Linked DNA regions of Homo sapiens: all the other regions are linked to region 3. Evidence: promoter capture Hi-C in 16 types of primary human blood cells and fetal thymus (Javierre and others, 2016). All regions are on one chromosome and are shown on one strand. The core of a region is centred on a gene start or on the middle of the fragment in contact, and the rest is flanking DNA. Distances in the headings are between cores, read along the strand shown.

Region 1 (2,700 bases), core at 132-2,631, 150 kb before region 3:
TTAAGTTTTGAGACAACGTCTGACTCGCTGTCACCCAGGCTGGAGTGAGGTAGCACCATCATAGCTCACTGTATCCTTAAACGCCTGGGTGCAGGGACTAAGGGAGCGTGCCAACCATGCTTGACTAATTTACTTTTTTGTAAAACCAGTAGTCTCCAACCTTTTTGACACAAGAGACCGTTTTGTGTAAGACAATTATACCACGGACCAGGGGGTGCAGGGGCTGGGAGCAATGATTTCCGGACTAAAACTGCTCCAACCTCAGATCATCAGGCATTAGATTGTCACAAGGAGCCTGAAACCTAGATCCCTTGCATGTGCCATTCACAATACAGTTTGAGCTTATGAGAATCTATCTAATGCTGCAGCTAACCTGACAGGCGGTGGAGCTCAGTTGGTTAATGTTCGCTCACCCCTCAGCTGTGCGGCTCAATTCATAACGTGCCATGGACAGGGACCGGTTACCGGTCGGTGGCCGGGGAAATGAGGACCCCTGGTATAGATGGTAGTCTGGCTATGTTGCCCAGGATGGTCTTGAAGCCTGGCCTGAATTAATTCTCCAATCTCAAGCCTTTTCAACTCAGCTGCATCACAACTTAAACCTATAGATAACTGTCACAGAAACTTGTTTCCAGTGTTACGCCATCTTAAAATAATGTGGGTGGCTCTTAAAAGAGCCTTTGGGTTCTTTCCAAATTGGCCTCCCGGAAAGCTCTTTACTTCTTAGATGTGGCCTTTCTAACATTAACTTCATGATGTTGGGTCAATTTTGACTTCGAAGCCCTTGCCTTCACTGGGCTCTTCTGCTGTTGCTTACCCTTGGCTCCTTTAGCCTTTCTCCCGCTCCTAACAGTTTTAGGAGTTGTCGCTCTCGGCTTCTTGGCTCTCTTATTGGTTTTAGCAGTCTTTGGTGACTTGGAGTCCCTGGATAAAACCAGCTTCTTGGTCTTGGCAGAAACTGACTTTTTAGCCTTGCTTCTGGTAGATTTAGGAATCACCTTCTTACTAAGCTTAAAGGAACCGGAAGCACCAGTACCCCTGGTTTGCACCAGGATTCCCTTGTTCACTAAGCTCTTGAGGGACAGTTTGATGCGGCTGTTATTCTTCTCTACGTCGTAGCCAGCAGCGGCCAATGCCTTCTTGAGCGCAACCAAAGACATACCTACTCGTTCCTGTGACACTGAAAGGGCCTCGGTGATCAACTTGGACACAGAGAGGTTCGGCACTTTGCGACTTGCACTTATCAAGCCAGCCGGCTTCCTCCCTCGCTTCTTGGTTGGAAGTTTCTCCATAGCGGCTACACCAGCACTGGCAGAAGCTGCAGGCACGGTTTCAGACATAACAACAGAGAAACGCAAGATGTAATAACCAGCGAAAAGCATGAAACACCCGGGCGGCCTCGGGGCCTTATATAGGGTAGGGCGCGCTGTGATTGGTGCATCACCTAGGCACCGCCCCCGCCCCTTGGAGGAGGAGTATTTGTGTTTGTTTTACCCGGAAAAGTTGAGTATAACAAAACCCCTCTTTACAGAATCTCCCAGGGTCTAGTGCTGAATAATCTGCGGAAATTCATATTTGACATGACTTTTCTCTTTTTAATGAAAAATGACCCTGGATGCCAAAACTATTCGAGAAAGCCCTCGATTTTCAATCAAATTCACGGAGAGGAACAAAACTTCCCCTTTTCCTTGTAAATTAATAAGTAATCTTTGGCAGAAGACTTATTTCATCTCTTCAGAGTGGTCTTCCAAATGGATAGCTTCAAATCGGTAGAGGAAAGAAATTATTCACGCCATGATTTTTATTTAAAATTATTTATATATGTGAGGGAAGTAACACAGATCTCTTAGCTGTCTAATTGCGGAGTCAGAAGATGCTTATAGAATTGTCAAAAGACTGCAGAGGATGTCTTTATTTAGGCATGTGCAATCTAATAAATCATAATCCACAGGAACATGGGTTGTCTGTAATTAAAGGTGCTCCCAAGTCCCTGTAGCTTTATAGAGGACTCTCAAGGATGGGGTAATATCAAGATCTCACACATTATGTAAGATTGGCCATAATCAGGCCACTCTCATGACCGGTGTCCTCAACTGAGTTTTGCTTCTGGTTTCATTAATTGAAGTCCCCTCTATCCCCCTGCCCACCCCTACATCCCCAGATAAACAGACACAGTCCCTCCCCTAAATTAACTATAAAACATGAGGTAGGAACCCTAGACTCAAGAACCTACTAGAAACTACAGACCCCATGTCTAACAAGACTGGGCGGGTTGGCTGGGCGCAGTGATTCATGCCTGTAATTACAGCACTTCGGAAGGCTGGAGGCCAGGAGTTCAAGACTAGGTTGGCCTGGTCCCTACTGAAAAAAAAAAAAATTAGCTGGGTGTGGTGGCACATGCCTGCAGTCCCAGCTTCTGGGTAGACTGAAGAGGATCACTTAGAGCCCAGGAGCTTGAGGTCGCAGCTACTGCACTCCAGCCTGGGCAGACCCTCATCTCTGAATTGCTTAATTAATTAACTGAGCTGGCAGATTTGGCTGCATAGCTGTGGGGAAAGGGTTGTTGGAATAATGTCCAGTGTGCTCCCCTGAGCTTCTACTGGAACAGGTCTTTGTGAGAGGCCTGGAGATAAGAGCTTGCTCACAAAGGCTGAGGCCTTTCTGGGATGCTGAATGAGTTTAGTGTGGCCAGAGCATAGG
Region 2 (2,700 bases), core at 21-2,520, 190 kb after region 3:
TAGAGCTGGGCCCTGTAAGGTGAGAGGAATCACATCCTGCAGAAGTCTGTCCTGAGAAGCAGGTACTCCTGTCACAGCAGAGACACAGTGGATACCTGAGTAACAATAATACAAGACAGGACGTGGGAACAGCAAAAGATTTGGGTGTCAGAAGAGGCCGAGAACACTTCAGGCAGGAACATTCAGAGTTGTTCTTGGAGGAAGTAGGCACGAAGGCTGGGCAGGATTTCACGGGGCAGAGATGGAGCAAGCAATTGAAATGAAAGCCATGGCATGGGAAAAGGAGCACTGGCCACAGGGAGTGCAACGTTGTGATGCAAGGCCACTGTGGAGCCATTGCTAGCGTATTAACTGCAAAGTTTTGAATTGAATCAGAAGGGAATTGGAGGCCTCCAGACTAAGCATTTAGACACTTGAGGGGAATATTGACAACTGGGCCTCGGGAAGATTATTCTGGAAGATATCTTTACAATTACAAGATTGGAGCCTTTGGGAGAGGGATGATGTTTACGGGAGGATGGTATGTGTGCTAGTGTGTGTGTCTGTGTGTGGCTCTTGGACCCAACCTGACCACCTACTATCTAGAAGGTGAAGGACAACTAGAAAGTTTTGCTCAATTCCATCTTCTGCCACCACCAGAATGCCACCTCCCTGAGGGAAAAGGTTTTTGATCCTCAGTCAGGATTCTCAGCACCTCTTATCCGATAGCTTTGGAATGAATGGCAAGGCCTTCATAACAGCCACTGCAACTGCTGTCTCCTTTCCTTTGCTACCCCTCCCGCTCCAGCCATGCCAGCTTCCCCCAAGCCCTCCTGCGCTCCAGGCCCAACCTCCAAAGCCAGCAACTTGAACAGGAGTCCTCTGGCTTTGGAAAGGGGGCGGCTTACGTTTTCCTGCTCATGTTTCCTCCCCAGCAAAATTGCCCTCTACATAGAGAGGCCTCTCCTTGTGGACACCAGCAAAGCCACCGACCTCAGTGACAAACCCCAGGGAATCTCCCCAAGGAATCTCAAAGCGAGAGAGAGAGAGAGAGTCTTGAGAGAGAAAGAGAGAGAGAGAGAGTCTTGCTTTCGAACAAAGAAAAAGGAAATAAAAAGACCCGATAATCTCAAAAGGTTATTTGCTGCTTGAAATTTGTGATTCGGTGTATTCTACCCAGCAACTGCTGAGAAATAAGGTTCGACACCATTGGCTGGTTCACTCACACCCGGCCAATCCTGGGCTCTAAAATACTTAGGGAACTCTTGGGACTGTGGAAGCCCAGGAGACCAGATTTCGTTTCCTGCATCTCCAAACATGGCGACCTAGGAGAAGGGGAAGAACAATTTTTTCTCCTCTTTTGGGAAGGTTTGTGTCTAGTAGTGCCTGTGCCCCTGGGCAGATTGGAGAGAAGAGGGACGACTGGAGAATCGTCGAGAACCAGCGGAGAAAAGAAAAAGCAACGTTTAATTCTAGAAGGTAGGAAACGGAGGGGAGGCGCTACAGCTCCGGGGTGGGCACAGTAGGTGGGGGAAGCGGGGTCTGCTGTGGACACGAGACGGGGTCCTGGGACAGGGAAAGCCCACCGGTGGGGAGGCGCGGCCTCGCCTGTCTTTGCCTCAGGCTGCCCGGCCTGGGTCGCGGGGAGGAGGAAGTGAAGGGAGGAGGGTGTGGTAGAATCCAGCGACAACTGAAGAAACTGCATTCTGGCCAGAGAAGTGAGCCGAGGAGGGCGGAAAAAGGCCCCCTTGATCTTGGCATTGATGGCTTACTTCATGGAATGTTTAAGGAATCCCTCTCTCGGGACATACCTGAGCCTTCGGATGCAGGGGACTCCCTGAAGTTGGGGCACTGATGAGACCTACTTGAGTGACGGGAGAGGTTGGGCCCGACCAGCACTGAGGTGCCAAGACTCCTAGGCTGATTCTCCTCTGTAACCCTAGGCCTCCTGTCCCTGCCTGCTCTGGGTGCTCATGGAATCAGCTGCTGCCCTGCACTTCTCCCGGCCAGCCTCCCTCCTCCTCCTCCTCCTCAGCCTGTGTGCACTGGTCTCAGGTAGGGATGTGTGCCACTTGCTGCTGTCACCTATCAGAAAGGAACATCAACCCTGTAGTCTGCAAAGGGAAAGAAAGAAGGACTGTGGAGTTGTTGACTTACCCTTTCATTCTGAACATGTTCATTGAATTTATACCAGCACTGTCCAAAAGGAATACAGTGAGGCACAAAGGCCGAGTGCATGTACAATTGCAAATTTTCAAAAAAAATTAAATTTTACTTTTTATTTTAAAAAGTAAAAAGAAACATGAAATAAATTTGTATACTATATTTTGTTTCGCCCCAAATAATCAAATACGAATATTTAAATACTTAGTTAATATACCATATTACCAATGAGATAGTCAACATTTTGAAATTTTAAATCTTCATAATCCTGTGTGTATTTTACACTTACAGCTCATTTCAGTTGGAACTAGCTAGTGGATATGTGTCCTATTGCACGGCTCAAGTTTACAGTACACTCAGGCACAGCACTAGATTGGGAAATCGAGGAAAATCCCCTCAAGGGCACAGGGTGGACAGAGGGTGCTCAGGGCAGGTTCCTCAGGGTTTCCTTCATGAAGCAGAAGCACACTTTATAGTTACTGCTCCCAGGGGTGCTGTCGACTAGCCACAGCTACTGGTCCCCAGATTTCTCAGCCCAAAGAGACCCTATGGCCATGG
Region 3 (2,700 bases), core at 72-2,571:
TTCATTAAATGAACTAATATCACAGGGAGAAACACAAGCCTGTCAACAAACCTAGATAGATTTTGTCACAAACCACTGTCTACTCTGCAGCCCTAACAGACATTGTCCCAGGCCCTTGCATGTTCTTCAAGCCCATTGAATTCCCCTACAAATCATTTATTATATCCCTAAAAACACTTCTCAAGCTCCCATTTCCCTAGGAAGTAGAATAAACATCTATGTCCAATTGCAGTATTGGGTGATCACTCTATCCACCCCCCTCTGCAGTGTACACGTTAATAATTTCATATGCCTTTTATTAATTCTGGTCATTAATTTAACCTTTTTCTTCTTTGGGGCCCACGTTGAAACCTCTATTTTCAACTTCTCTTCCAGTTAGGTGTGGCCTTTTAGCTAAGTTCCTGCCAATGGAACATAAACACAAGTAAAGATTGACATTTCCAGGCCTGGGACATAATAACTTTCCACGAAGGATTTTTCCATGTTCTTTCCCCTTGCAGGGCAAATGTAGAAGCCACATTTAGGATGGCTAAGCCACAAAGACAGAGGGCATCTAGGTTCCAGAACCACTGCTAGAAGAAAGAGGGACCTGCTGATCTAGAATACCCTTTTTGAACCTCATATCCGCAGAAAATAAACTTGTATTTATCTTAACTAGTATGCTCTGCACCAAAGAAGGGTCTAGATTCTTAATTTCTAAAAGGAAATGCATTCACTTGTTGCTGGATGAATCTTCAGGTCAAAACACTTCATCTGTAAAAGAAACATAAGATTTCATGGAGAGAAACAAAGCAAAATGTGGACTTCTTAAGAGTTAACCAGAGGAGAGGAAGCTATATTCACATCTATCAGCAGTAGAACTTCTGTCCACAGCCTAGTGATCTTTCAAATGTGGATGTGACCATAAGGATGAGGTAGTTTCATTGGATATGTTGCCTCTTGGGTCCTCCATTAGAAAAGCATAAGGAGGGTTGGATGCGGTGACTCACATCTATAATTGCAGCACTTTGGGATGCTGAGGCAGGAGGATCACTTGAGCCCAGGAGTTCAAGACCAGCCTGGGTAATATAACGAGACCTCATCTCTATATTTAAAGAAAAAAAAATTAAATAAAATCAGTAAGGCGGCCGGGGGTGATGGCTCATGCCTGTAATCCAACACTTTGGGAGAGAGAGGTGGGAAGATTGCTTGAGGCAAGGAGTTTGAGACTTCAGTGAGCTAGGATCATGCCACTGCAGTCCAGCCTGGATAACAGAGCAAGACTGTCTCAAAGAAAAAAAAAAGAAAAAGAAAAGGAAAAGAAAAGAGAAAAGAAAAATAAGAAAAGAAAAGCTCAAGGAGAAAACAGAGACTCTATAATATTGACATTGCTCCCCAAAAGTCTCGTAGAATAATCTGGGTAAATTTTGTAAGACACCAGATATGTCTTTTTTCCTCTAACTGCACTTAACCAAAAAAGTGAAAGTAATTGATAGTCCATTTTTGACAGTTATAATCATAAATAAAATCCCTGGATCTCATATCGGACAATAGTCTCACTCAATATGAAGGATTAAGAAGAAATGTGATCTCTCAATTTTTTGTCAAGGTTTATCTAGGGCTCAAAATCAGTAGCTGGGAACATGTATCATCTTCATCATAATTTAATTTTGTTTTATTATGGATTCGGCCATCACATTATAACCATTATAGAAATTTTAATGTGGAGTTCTGTTGCTAGTAGGAGCAGTTTTCTTTGTACTTTGGAGCTCATCCGTAGATATCTAGTATAATGAAATCTCAGAAAATGTTACAGCATATAAAGCCTTGTAAAGATTACATTGGTTTCTTTCATGTGAAAAGTAAAATGATAGCAATTTTGCAGATCTCTTATTTTTTATTTTAAATAAATTATCATATAATAATACTCTTTCCTTAACTACTGGTATCCTTGAATAAGGCGAGCAGTCTTCCATGGGGTTAGCACTCATTGCTTATCTTTTCCTGCCCCTGCCTCTTGATTCACTGTCTTAACTGAATGTCCTTGGGTATCTGGAGCAACACGTTTGAAAAATTAAAATGTATGAATCAGGCCGGGTTCAGTGGCTCATGCCTGTAATCCCAGCACGTTGGGAGGCCAAGGTGGGGAGATCACCTGAGGTCAGGAGTTCAAGACCAACCTGGCCAACATGGCGAAACCACATCTCTACTAAAAAAAAAAATACAAAACTTAGCCAGGCGTGCAGGCACCTGTATTCCCAGCTACTTGGGAGGCTGAGGCAGGGAGAAGTGCTTGAACCTGGGAGGCGGAGGTTACAGTGAGCCGAGATCCTGCCACTGCACTCCAGCCTGGGCAACAGAGTGAGACTCTGTCTCAAAAAAAAAAAAAAAAAAAAAAGAAGGCAGGGCGCGGTGGCTCACTCCTGTAATCCCAGCACTTTGGGAGGCCAAGGTGGGTGGATCACCTGAGGTCAGGAGTTGGAAACAAGCCTGACTAACATGGCAAAACCCCATCTCTACTAAAGATACAAAAATTAGCTGGACATTGTGGCACATGCCTGTAATCCCAGCTACTCAGGAGGCTGAGGCAGGAGAATCACTTGAACCCGGGAGGCGGAGGTTGCAGAGAGCCGAGATCGTGCCATTGCACTCCAGCCTGGGCAACAAGAACGAAACTCCGTCTCAAAAAAAAAAAGTATAAATCAGTACTGAGTTACCTGG

The links. Contacts are between HindIII fragments. The CHiCAGO score rates a contact against its expected background, and 5 or more counts as called.
Region 1: a contact is called between the fragment with the promoter of H1-6 here and a fragment that was not itself captured in region 3, in 1 of 17 cell types (monocytes). The highest score is 5.3, in monocytes.
Region 2: the fragment with the promoter of BTN2A1 here is called in contact with a fragment that was not itself captured in region 3 in 3 of 17 cell types (total B cells, naive B cells and total CD8 T cells); the score reaches 5.3 in total B cells.

Annotation. Positions count from the first base shown.
Region 1 is chr6:26,106,754-26,109,453 of GRCh38, forward strand. H1-6 (H1.6 linker histone, cluster member) reads right to left here and starts at 1,382. Exons shown (of 1, transcript NM_005323.4): 1 at 659-1,382. The coding sequence starts at 1,340. The coding sequence ends at 717. The HindIII fragment of the contact is 5,524 bases long and covers 1,009-2,700 here.
Region 2 is chr6:26,456,685-26,459,384 of GRCh38, forward strand. BTN2A1 (butyrophilin subfamily 2 member A1) reads left to right here and starts at 1,271. Exons shown (of 8, transcript NM_007049.5): 1 at 1,271-1,458; 2 at 1,923-2,034. The coding sequence starts at 1,953. RefSeq lists enhancers at 882-1,141, 1,302-1,461. The HindIII fragment of the contact is 11,033 bases long and covers 1-2,700 here.
Region 3 is chr6:26,261,698-26,264,397 of GRCh38, forward strand. LOC105374986 (a long non-coding RNA gene) reads left to right here. Exons shown (of 3, transcript XR_926613.3): 3 at 1-231. Among named protein-coding and RNA genes, the nearest start is that of H3C8, 8.4 kb to the right of the region's middle. The HindIII fragment of the contact is 3,420 bases long and covers 1-2,700 here.